Regions from separate parts of the Homo sapiens genome. Here region 1 is linked to region 2. Evidence: promoter capture Hi-C in 16 types of primary human blood cells and fetal thymus (Javierre and others, 2016). All regions are on one chromosome and are shown on one strand. Each heading gives the region's core, a stretch centred on a gene start or on the middle of the fragment in contact. The rest is flanking DNA. Distances are from core to core; before and after follow the strand shown. Region 1 overlaps CSNK2A2 (casein kinase 2 alpha 2). Region 2 holds the start of MMP15 (matrix metallopeptidase 15).

Region 1 (6,002 bases), core at 888-3,387, 140 kb before region 2:
GGTGACTCCAGTGAGGTTCCAAAGTCTGGTTTATCATCCCACACACACACCCCCCTCCCCACTGCCCGCCTTTCTTGCCCAGGCTGGAGTGCAGTGGCACCATCTCAGCTCACTGCAGCCTCCACCTCCCAGGTTCAAGCAGTTCTCCAGCCTCAGCCCAGTCGAGTGGCTGGGATTACAGGCACGCACCACCACGCCCAGCTAACTTTTGTATTTTTAGTATAGCCGTGTTGCCCAGGCTAGTCTCGAACTCCTGACCTCAAGTGATCCACCTGCCTCGGCCTCCCAAAGTGCTAGGATTACAGGCATGAGTCACTGTGCCTGGCCTCATCACCCCCTCTTTTAAAGAAATCTTCCTCGGCTGGGCACAGTGGCTCACACCTGTAATCCCAGTACCTTGGGAGGCCGAGGCTGGCGGATCACGAGGTCAGGAGATTGAAACCATCCTGGCTAACACGGTGAAACCCTGTCTCTACTAAAAATACAGAAAATTAGCTGGGCGTAGTGGCAGGCACTTGTAGTCCTAGCTACTCGGGAGGCTGAGGCAGGAGAAGGGCGTGAACCCGGGAGGCAGAGCTTGCAGTGAGCCGAGATTGCACCACTGCACTCCAGCCTGGGCGACAGAGCAAGACTCCATCTCAAAAAAAAAAAAAAGAAATCTTCCTCATAGCCCTTGCCATTCCCTTCATACCCCCTTTCTACCAGCTGTAGTGTGCAGAGAGAGCAAGGGGTGCCTTCTGAAGCACGCTTTTTTTCTCTTTCATTACAGGCAGCAAGCTGCCCGTTGGGGGACTGTATTCAAGTCAAGGTGTCACAAACAATAAGACTATGCTTGCGTTGGGGGATGGTAGAGGGGTTGCTTACTATTATCTGTGCTTTCTTACCTAATAGGCTCTGGATTACTGCCACAGCAAGGGAATCATGCACAGGGATGTGAAACCTCACAATGTCATGATAGATCACCAACAGAAAAAGGTACCATTACAGCCAGGCAGCAACAAGCTTGATTAAAAGGCTTAGAGCAGACCAAAAAGCTGTCCAGTGCCATGATGGTTTCTGTAGACCCGTGGTGGGTTTTTTGGCAAACTTTCGTTACTGTGATTTCTCCCATCTCCATTGTTGATTTCTACTTTGTATAGTGTAGTACACAAGGAAAGTAGACGGTTTAACTATAGTAACTAACTATAGTCACTTGTTTATTTTGGTCATAGTTTTCTGGAGGGCCTCAGAAAGAAATTACAGCTGGTGGTTTCTGCTTCATTTCTTGATGACCCGCAGACCAATCTGCCTGGCCTTAAAAGAACACTTGGGTCCCTCCTATTTTTGATATCCAACTCTGTTGGCCCTAATCAGTGAGTAAATGGATCATCTAGTATTAGACGAATAAATCATTAGAGCAATGCTTCAGTCCTGGAGTGGGATGTGTGTCCCCAGCCCTTTCACTGACGCCTGGAGCTTATAACGAAAAGCTATGAATGATGGGAGAATGTGTTACCAAGTGTAACTGCCTACAGTTTCTGAATGTGGGCAGAAAAAAAGGTTGAGCTCTGTTGATCTAGAGAGAGGGATGAACCAGGATAATTTAAAATTTTTTCAAAAAGCATTTCAAGTGTTCTGCTCTAAAAATGACCTCTTGCACGATTGCTGAAAATGTAATTTTTAAGCCAGTGCACCTGCTCACATTTTTTGTGTGGCCAAATGATTGTTACCTAATGTGATGTGGCCTTGTTCTAAGGCATAGGCGTCTAGAAACACTCCTTTCACATGTTTTTTTCTGTCCTATTTGTAGCTGCGACTGATAGATTGGGGTCTGGCAGAATTCTATCATCCTGCTCAGGAGTACAATGTTCGTGTAGCCTCAAGGTACTTCAAGGGACCAGAGCTCCTCGTGGACTATCAGGTAAACTTGTTAGCAGAGCTATTCTGGGTTATTTATACTTGCTTAGGGCTTTTCTGGTTTGCTGTTGATCTAGTCAGTTTGAATACACTCAAAACCCAGCCATTATTTCACCCTAAAATGCTGATTTTAGTTTTTTCTCAGCTAGTTTTTTGGGGGGACAGAGAAGTTTTTAAATCTAAAATATCTGCAAAGGTTAAATGAAGACTAGAAATTCAGATCATTTCTAGGAGCCAGGAAGTTAAAAAAAATTTTTTTTAAATAAATTATCTATGGCCATACCACCCTGAACACGCCCAATCTCGTCTAAAAAAGAAATTTATATCAGAAAAATGGATTTCTAATACCCTTGGCTAATGCGTTGTCCTTATTGCCTCAGATGTATGATTATAGCTTGGACATGTGGAGTTTGGGCTGTATGTTAGCAAGCATGATCTTTCGAAGGGAACCATTCTTCCATGGACAGGACAACTATGACCAGGTGAGCAAATGCTTTCTGGTTCTTATTTATTTGGGGGTGAATGCCAAAAAAATAGCATCCTTAGATAAGAATACTATCCTTGAGCCACTAAGTATCACTCAGTGTCTGCATATGAGCTTTTCTTCAAGATAAAGATCGCACAGAATTTTGTGTTTACCAGGTCCGCAGAAGTAGAGGCAGATAATGCCATCTATGCCAAACTTCCAAAGTGAATCTGTGAAGAAGTCAGGCACCTCCTTGTCTAATAAAACTAGATTTTAGTCATTAGATTGTGATGCCCTGTACTGGTCCACCTCTAGAAGATTATTATCGTAAGTTGTATTATTTTAAAGGCCGTTTGGAAATTTGCATTCATGTGAACTTCTTGTCCTTGGGTCTGTCTGCCTGCCCTGGACCTGGGTTTGTATCTCGTTCCTAGAGGTTTAGTGGTGTGGAAGTCTTCTGATTCCTTGGTGCAGTGTCCTCACGGGCTCATGGTGTGTTCTGTGCTCAGTGATTTGGTCAGTTTGTTTTGTGTTTCAGCTTGTTCGCATTGCCAAGGTTCTGGGTACAGAAGAACTGTATGGGTATCTGAAGAAGTATCACATAGACCTAGATCCACACTTCAACGATATCCTGGGACAGTAAGTAAGAGAGAGAGAGAGAGTGCTTTACCTTACCCCGTTTCAGAAGTGGAAAGGTTAGCCAAAATCACTTTCTTTTCCCATTCTGATTATAGTAAAATGGAAGTAGCCCTCTTTTTTCCTATGCATATTTTCTTTTAACTTATTGAGATATTTGGACTTTATGTCTTTTAATCATTTTACTTCTCTGAGAGATAACCTATTAATAGAAAAGGTAAAACAAAAATCATAATGTTATAGAAAAAAGTTTTCTGGTACAGCAAAAGCTTATTTTTAATGGCCAAACTTGGAGAGCAATGATTCTTTGAATAAGAGACTTAGTTTGTTTTTTATTATATTTTATTTTATTTACTTCATATCTCTTCAAGGTGGACTTACAATTTCTTCTTGTTCTCTGTAATGGATTTTCTATACAATAGCAAATTTTAAAGCACATTGAGTTTTCAGGTACATTGCAATAATGTTGAGAAGTAAACATTTTGTTAACAGTTTTCAAACAGTATTTTATGGAACCTCCCTGTTTCTGAGGCTAGCCCTGGGAAATATATCTGCTGACCAATAAAAATTGCCCACTCTTCTGCATGCCACCCAGAATTGACTAAAAGTCTACAGCATAAAAAATAATCTAGAAAGGTTCCACATATTCTAAATGAGATATAGAAGTTTTACCTAGTTGTATTTTTCTAATCACAGAGCACCATTGTGTTTCAGGATGCTATGCTGTAACTATGGGGCCGTAGGGCAGGCACCAGTTAGAGATTTAACAAGCTTGTAATCAGTACATTATTCTGAGATTTTGTTGGCTTTAGCCCTAGTAGATAAGGATTCTTGTTGAATTTAGTCTCTGGTTACTAATGCTTCATTTTTCTTCTCAGACATTCACGGAAACGCTGGGAAAACTTTATCCATAGTGAGAACAGACACCTTGTCAGCCCTGAGGCCCTAGATCTTCTGGACAAACTTCTGCGATACGACCATCAACAGAGACTGACTGCCAAAGAGGCCATGGAGCACCCATACTTCTGTGAGTCTCCAGGGACTGTGTTCAGGGAGTAATTCAGTCAAGAGAACAAATCTTCCACTCTTTGTCTTTGAGACCAGTCAGGAGAATTCTAGGGTATTTGGATTGGATTATTCCTAGAATTTGGCCTCATTTATCGTAGATGATTGAGACAACTTTGCAGATCCGTTTCTTGATCACCAAAGGTGTTTGCTTATTCACTGAATGTATCTCCCCGGAGTTCAAGCTGTTTGACTACTCCCTGTTACCCTGAGTTAATAGATCGCAAGTTTCTAAAATTTCTTTTTAAACATACATATATTTGTGTGGAAACCTAATTGAAGATTATTTCTCCCCTCAGAAAACTAGTAATTAGTTAAAAGTAGTAAGATAACTATTGTATGTTTTGAAAGAAGGAGATGAACAGATGGATGGACGAAAGGAATTTGAGGAAAGGGAAGTAAGTGTGGAGAGGCCTCACTGAAATCTTGACTGAACTGCTCACTTAGAAGTGTGTGTGGATTCACTTTGCGTGTTTGCTTATTCTTCTGCATGTGTATGGTTCTTTCCTCTGATAACGTGTGTTTCAAATAAACTTCCTCCTATTATCAGTCTCCTTCCTGGGGAGCAGGGAGGTTGAGAGACTTACCTCAGTCGCTTTCTGAATCAAGAGGGAAACGTTCACCCCTTAAAGTCGTTGTCTCTGGCTTAACAAACATGCTGTCTTTCCCTCTCCTTTGATTTCCTCTGGAGATGAACTAAATTCTTGCCTGAAGAATGTGTCGCTGTAGTCTTGAGCCTGTGGCCCATATGCATAAGGGAGACCGCAAATGGAAAAGCCTTCAGCCTTCTAGACCTCAGCCCCAGGAAACTCAGATGTCCCCGCCCCAGTGTCTGGCACAGAAAGCTGTTTTTACCCGAGTTAGATCAAATTAGGAATACTGATGTTTATGACATGTCATTAATGATCTTTCTGCTTTTCTGAATATATGTCATACTTCAATTTAAAAAATTTCAAACTACGGTTGCTTAAAATGGATAGGTCTTCTGATGGCTCTTTTTACTCACCTTTCCTTTGAAGTGCTTGTTATTCTACATGCTTTGAAGAAATTAGGGGTTAGAGATGATATTAATATTGAAAGAAAATAAATGTAGAAATTTGAACAGTGGGAAATTAGAGTTTCTATGCCTCTTAGCATTGAGTCTGTACTCCGAGGAAGGGTAAGAGTTGACTGCAATAACAATTTCCCTGATCATTTTTCAGTGTTTGGTTTTTATATGGCTGGAATTCCGTGATTTCCGTCTCTCCTGTTGCCCCCCTGACCCTGGCTTGCCCATCAGTCTGTCTCTCTTTCCGTTGAAAGGGTGGGTTTGCCATGGGCTTCTCTCAGCACTCACCACCCTGATTGCCTGACTTTCCTCCTGCTTTCTTGCAGACCCTGTGGTGAAGGAGCAGTCCCAGCCTTGTGCAGACAATGCTGTGCTTTCCAGTGGTCTCACGGCAGCACGATGAAGACTGGAAAGCGACGGGTAATGCGGCATTGATGCTTGCCAATAAAACCAACCAACCAAACACAAACCTTGAAGGAAAACTACAGTGTGATAAAAAGAAATTCTTATCATTCCTTCTAAATGCACAGAAGAGTAAAGACCTAAAAGTCTGTCAAAAAGCAAGAAAGAAACTCCCCAGTGCTAGTCTCCAGGGAGCTGTCACTGTGGCAGCATGGGGATGCACCTAGTTCAGGATCTGAAGGAGCTCTGCCTTTGGAATGCATGGGAGATAGAGACTCGGAGTTGTTGTACATTTACCTTTGTTTAACAGGGCACCACTGTTGAATTAACCCATTCAGTCAACAAGCTCTGAATGTCTGACTTCCTATCTATTCCATTGTGGTCTGGGTTTCCTTTGGTGAAATTCAGGCTCAAGTCTTAGCGAAATGTCAGCAGTCTATACTGACACACCAGCCTCATTTACAAAAAGGAGATATTAAAACAGTGACA
Region 2 (5,771 bases), core at 2,497-4,996:
GGAGAGGAGTGATTTACTACTAGCAAGAAAACAGAGTAAAAAGCAGAGACAAGAGGGGAGGGGGAGAAGATTCAGCTTCTGCAGATTCCCAATGACAAGGCCCCGCTATTAACTCCCTTTTCTTAGCTGGTGGGCACAGATGGCATCTGTAGTTTTGCTCTGTTTAAAAGAAAGAGGGGACCAGTGGGGCCCCCCCGGAGCCAGCATGGAAGTGCTAGTAGAGACTGAAGCTAAGGAAGCCCAAGACTGTGGCTCACCTGAAGGTCAAAATGGTAATTCACGCTGACCCCCTCCCAACGCCCCCACCCCCGCTGCCTCATCTACTCAGTGGCTGGGTAGGGGCTAGGAAGATACTCGTGGGCCTGTTGAGGAAAGGCGGGTGGATCGGTTTTGGTGGTGGTGGCACCACCCCTGTGAACTCTGGCAGCCTGAGTCACCTCCACAGAGCAGGCTGAGGACCTGAATTGTGCCTGGGAGGAGGGGGTAGGGGGAGGCAGGTGAGATAAGAGCTCCCCCGGTGAGCCTGGAGACTCTCAGCCCTGCAGGGCAGGAACAACAGTGAGCACCTCAGCCAGGTGGGGATCTGGCCCGGAATGGCTACAGACTGGGATTGGACATCCAAGGGAGAATGTGGGATAGGACGTGGCAGCTCAGTGGTGGGCTAGGGCCTGGCAGGTTGCAGGTGTTTGTCAGTTCCTAGCACATGCCAGGCTCCTTGATGTCTCAGCCTCGTGAAAGTCCTGTGGCTTCCACCCTGGGAGGGGAGAGAGGAAGTGGAGAGAGGCTGGCCTTGGCTCAGCTGCCAAGCTGCTCCGAGAAGGTCCCAGCTGTGACCCTACTGGAGGCCTGAGGCTGTGTGGATGCTGGGGTGAGGATGAGAGAGCCAGCCTTCTCCAAGGAAGGGAGGCTCAACACAGGGTGTAGGCCAGGCCCAGGAGTCTGAGGCCACAGCCCCCGGCAGATGGGCTGGCTGCTGAGGCCATTTGACTCTTTGGGCCCACATGTGGCCAGACCTGATGGGACCCTAGAAGCAGCCTGTACCCAAAGCCAACTGTAGGAGCTGGGACACTCCACCTGTCTCTAGCCCTCTATCTGCATGGCTGCCAACATTCAAGGCTCCTTAAACCTTCCGGGGTCTCTTCCAGTCACTGCCCAGGTCCAACCCAAGTGTTTCCCCAGGAGTAGGGCTCCAGGACAGTCACAACCTCCAGATCAGGAGCACGGTTTGTGATAACGCAACCATGGCTTCTTCCCTGGCGGCATCGAGCTGTGGGCACTCCCTGAGCTGGGGAGTTGGGGTAGGGGTGAGATGGAACTGGAAAAGCAGAAGAGAGAGAGAGTGAAGCCCCTCCAACTACAGGTCCCTGCACCCCTGAGCTCCTGGCCAGCTAGGATGCCATTAGCAATGCACGGCCATTGAATTCCATCACTGCTTCCTATGTATTGACGCCATCCCTAAGTAGATTAGAAACTCAATGGTGGGACTGTGACTTGAAATTCTTTGGCACTCCAGCCCAGAGTGGCAGGTGGGCCCAAATGGCACTCTCCGCCCAGTACTTGGGTCACAGGCTGAGGGGTAATCCTCACCAACAGGAGCCCCCTAAAGCTCCTCCTGCCTGTGTGAATGGGGTGGGGGAGGGTGGCCAGACTGGGTCGGGGCGGGGCTCCTATCCTGCCTCCCACCAGGGCCTGGCTCCTCCTTCAGCTCTCCCTGGCCAGGCCAGGGAGGGAGGGCAGAGCAGGTGGGGAAATGGCTGGGAGGTGTAACTCGAGCCCAGGAGGAATTCCCTGCCCTTCCTCTATGCTTTTATTAAAGTAGGGCGGGGAAGGGCAAGCTTCCATCGGAAAAATCTCCCAGGCAGCCCGGAGAGGTGGGAAAGCCGCCGTGGGCCAGGGAGGGAGCACCAGCTGAGCTGCAAATAGAAACGGCGCTCAGGCCCGCAGCCCGGGCAGCCCAAGGGCACCAAGGCCTGAGCACCGTTCAGAAGCGGCTCCGGGGTGGTTCTTTCTCCCTACTCCCCGCCCAAGTCCTCTCCCCGCCTATCTGGGGCAGGGCGCAGGTCTTAGAAGTCGGGGAAGAGTGGACCCTGCTCTTGCTCTGGGGCAAGAAAGCTGGCGCCTTCGGTGTCCTCGCTCGGGAGACACCATGGAGCTGGGGCGCTGGCTGGACTCGGCTCTACGCCGGGATGTCGCGCCTGGTCACCCGCGGGACCCATCCAGAGCGGGGCCCCGGGAGGGACGCCAAGCGGGCTCCTAGCGAAGAGAGGCGCGGGGTCCACCCTCTCGAATCCAGGGCTTCGACGTAGGGGCGCTGTTGGGAGGAAGCGCTGTGGGAGGCAGGGTCCGTCCTTAGGACCCCGCCCGGGCGTGCCTAGGCTTCCTCGCAAAAGCGCAGAAAGTCGCCAAAGCGCCCCCGCAACCCGAGTCCGCTGCCTCAGCCGTTTGCACCCATCCCCCCGCCTCCATCCTGGCCCGCCGTGCGCGGCTCGGTATCACCCAGACGGGAGGCCACCTGGGCAGGAGCGCAGTTGCCCAGCCGCCCAGCTCTTGCTCCGCCTGTGGCTGTCCCCGAGAGCAGCCCCCTCCCCACTCGCAAAGAGCGCCACTGCGCGCCAGCCGGGCTCTCGAGGAATCGGCTGCCCTGGAGGGAAGGAAGGAGGGGAGGCAAGGGCTGGGGGCGGCGGAAGCGGCTCCCGGGACACAGGCTGAATGTAAGGGGGTCGGGGTGGGGGCTCAGTGCCCAGAACAGGGCTGTAGGAGTAGCGGGGAGGAGAGCGAGGCCCTGCGCCCTCAAGGGTTTGCGAAGAGGTGCGCTGCAGAGGGCGAGCTGGGGAGGGGCAGACTGCCAAGTCCGCTTGCTTCCCCGCCACGGCCCAGAACAGGGGGCGCGTCTCCGCTCCCTCCACCTCCAAGTCCCAGCCTGCGGACGTGGCGCCTCTCCCTCCAAGCCCCCAGCCCGCAGCCAAAGGGCAGGGCGGGGGTCTTACCTCGGCATGGACCTCCGCGTCTTCGGCCGCTACGCCAAGGCCCAGGCAGCCCAGAAGCACCAGGAGCAGCGGCAGCAGTCGCGGCCGCGCCGCCTCCTCCCGGTCGCCGAGGAGGCTGCCCGTCCAGCCCGGCCGTCCGGGCGCGCTCGGGTCGCTGCCCATGCTCTCGGCGCCCAGCCCAGCTCGGAACACTGCACGCCGGATCCTCGCACGCGCCTTGGAAACTTGCGACGCTCCCTGGCTCCTGGCCCGGCAGGCGCGCCGCGGACCTCGGGCTCCCGGTCCCCGCCGGAGCCGCCTAGGTCGCCTCGGCAAATTCCCAAGCCCGAGGAGAAGCGGGCAGGGCAGGTCCGGGAGCTCGGAACCAGCCGGCGGGAAAGGGGGCCGACCGGAGCTGCCCCCGGCGAGGTTCCGCAGCCTCGGCGCCCAGCGCCTGGGGCCCGGCTCCCGAGAGCAAGCGCAACTCCGGAGCCTTTGTCTGGCTCAGCGCTCCGGCCGCCCGGTCCCGCGGCGCTCCCTGCGCGCCCAGCTCCCTCTGTCCATGCCCGGGGCCGGGCGCTGCCCGGAGCGCGCGCCTCCTGCACGGGGATTCTGCTCGCCGCCGCGCCCGACCGGGCCCGGGTCCCCAAGCAGTCCCGGGAGGAGGCGCAGGGAGCCGACCCGAGAGAGCGAGCGAGAGAGCAAGCGAGCCAGCCAAGGAGCGGGCGCCCGACGTCCCCGGCGAGTTCAGCGCGGCTCCGGGCGCTCCCAGCCCTCCTCCCCGCGCGCCGCGGCCGCCGCGCTCTTAAAGGGCCAGTGTGCTCCCAATGCGCGGACCCGGGCGGGGACCGGGGGCGGTGCCCCAGCCGCAGGCTTCTCACAAGCAGGTGCGGGCGGCCGAGGCCCGACAGGTGGGCGGTCCGTTTACGCTTCCCAGACGGCAGGAAACCTCTCCAGCCCACCCCGCGTCACTCCCAACCCAGCGCCTAGGGGGCGGGGGTGACCTCCAACGCGACCCCCCGCGGAGGGAGGAGGCAGGGAAGGCGTGGTCTCCCCGCCTGGGAAGAATGAAGACTCCTCCTTCTCATACCTGGTGGGGGATACCGAGGCCTAGGCGGACGGGAAGGAGGTCTTAGGGGAGGGATCAAAGAGTCGTTTTAGGCTTAAATATAAATATATATGTATATATGGATATTTGTCAGCCTGAAACCTCTTTTCAAAAGCCGCAGGGTGTCTCTGGCCATTGAATAACTTTCCTCAGTAGCAAAGTGAGGGTTTTGTGCGCGTCGAGGGCGCGTTGCGGCGGACAAGGGGCAGGTTTAGGAGGGACACGGTTCAAGTTCCGCGTCCGCCCCTTAGCTGCCGCTTGCACGTGGGCAAATTAATCTCTCCGAGCCTCCATGTTCTTATCGGGAACGTGGGGCAAAGAGTTGGGGTGAGGGCGAGGTAAGACTTCCGGCTCCTGGCCTGGCGCAATAGGTGCCCAAGCACTTTGGCCACTGGCTGGTGCGAGTGAAGTGCGACAGTGCGGCCGGAGTCGGCGCGGGGCGGGTGGACACACCTCCCCGCGAAGCTTAACGAGCTGGATTTCATTCTATTCCGGAAGCAGCTTGAGGTCGGGGCGGGGTGGATGCAGGAGGCCAGAGCTGGGAGGCCCGGGTCGAAGGTCCACCGAGACCCGGGGACCAGGCCAAGGGCAGCCCTGGCGCGGCGGACTGGCCGGCGTGGTCAGTGGGTGAGGGTTGCAGGCAGGAGGGCGGAGACCGAAGATAAGCTGTTCCTTATCTTCAGACCCGGAAATGGAAGCCGTCCTCACCTGAGGGCGGTTTTCTCTAGAGCAGGCCCTCGGGGCACCCTAGCCGGCCTCACCTCCCGGAAACTGGAAATCAGGAGACCTGGCAGAGTGCCTTAGAGAGGGCGCGTTTGAACCCTCCTGGGATGTCCTTGGGGAAAGGAAGTCGGAGTTTAGAGAAAGGAACCGGGCGATTCTATCATTTCCACGGACTCACTTCTCTGTGGGATCCTTCATCTGGGAAGTTGGTTTCTAAATTCTCCACTTCGAAATTTGCTTTTGGGAAATGTGCAGTGGTCTTCAGACACGGACAACGGGGTTGTCCTTGTTTAACCGACCACGTCGCACTCTTTCATGATATTTAGTCCCGATTAGCCAATTTTAAAAAGTTTGGGGCTAGGTAAAGTGGCTCAAGCCTGTAATCCCAGCACTTTGGGAGACCGAAGTGGGAGGATTGCTTTAGCCCAGGAGTTCAAGACCAGCCTGGGCAACATGACAAGACCCCATCTGTACAAAGAATACAAAAATTAGCCAGGTGTGGTGGTGTACGTCTGTAGGCCCAGCTACTTGGGAGGCTGAGTTGGGAGGATCACTTGAACCCAGGAGGTTGAGGATGCAGTGAGCTATGATCATGCCGCTGCCCTTCAACCCGGCTGTCAGAGCGAGACACTGTCTCAGAAAAAAAGAAAAAAAAAGTTGGGGTTTAAGGGGCTAGCTGTTAGTGAGAGGAGCCCAGGAATGAGTGGAGCAACGTTCTTTGAGGCCTGGGTCGGTCAAGTCTGGTGATTTTCTCTCTGTTGGAGGTTCCTCTCTTGGGGTCCAATCCTGCCTTAAGGAAATGACATCCCCTGTGACCAGATCTTGAAGCTCCCAATTATTGGTTCTGGCTCCTATAGGTACTTTGGGAGTCCAAGGTGGATTTGCATCTACATCCAACCCAAGATAGCTGGGTTTCTACTGGGTCTGGACAGCACCCAAAGCCCGAAAGGACTAGTCAGTGGGACTGAGATGTG

The links. Contacts are between HindIII fragments. The CHiCAGO score rates a contact against its expected background, and 5 or more counts as called.
Region 1: a contact is called between a fragment that was not itself captured here and the fragment with the promoter of MMP15 in region 2, in 1 of 17 cell types (endothelial precursors). The highest score is 5.1, in endothelial precursors.

The regions. Positions count from the first base shown.
Region 1 is chr16:58,163,583-58,169,584 of GRCh38, reverse strand. It overlaps CSNK2A2 (casein kinase 2 alpha 2), which reads left to right. Exons shown (of 12, transcript NM_001896.4): 6 at 892-975; 7 at 1,790-1,900; 8 at 2,277-2,378; 9 at 2,901-3,001; 10 at 3,877-4,025; 11 at 5,438-5,531. The coding sequence ends at 5,514. Among named protein-coding and RNA genes, the nearest start is that of CSNK2A2, 32 kb to the left of the region's middle. The HindIII fragment of the contact is 2,265 bases long and covers 1,005-3,269 here.
Region 2 is chr16:58,023,729-58,029,499 of GRCh38, reverse strand. It overlaps MMP15 (matrix metallopeptidase 15), which reads right to left and starts at 3,746. Exons shown (of 10, transcript NM_002428.4): 1 at 2,988-3,746. The coding sequence starts at 3,149. RefSeq lists enhancers at 2,082-2,631, 3,182-3,731, 3,964-4,549, 4,550-5,137 and a silencer at 3,598-3,737. The HindIII fragment of the contact is 2,704 bases long and covers 1,838-4,541 here.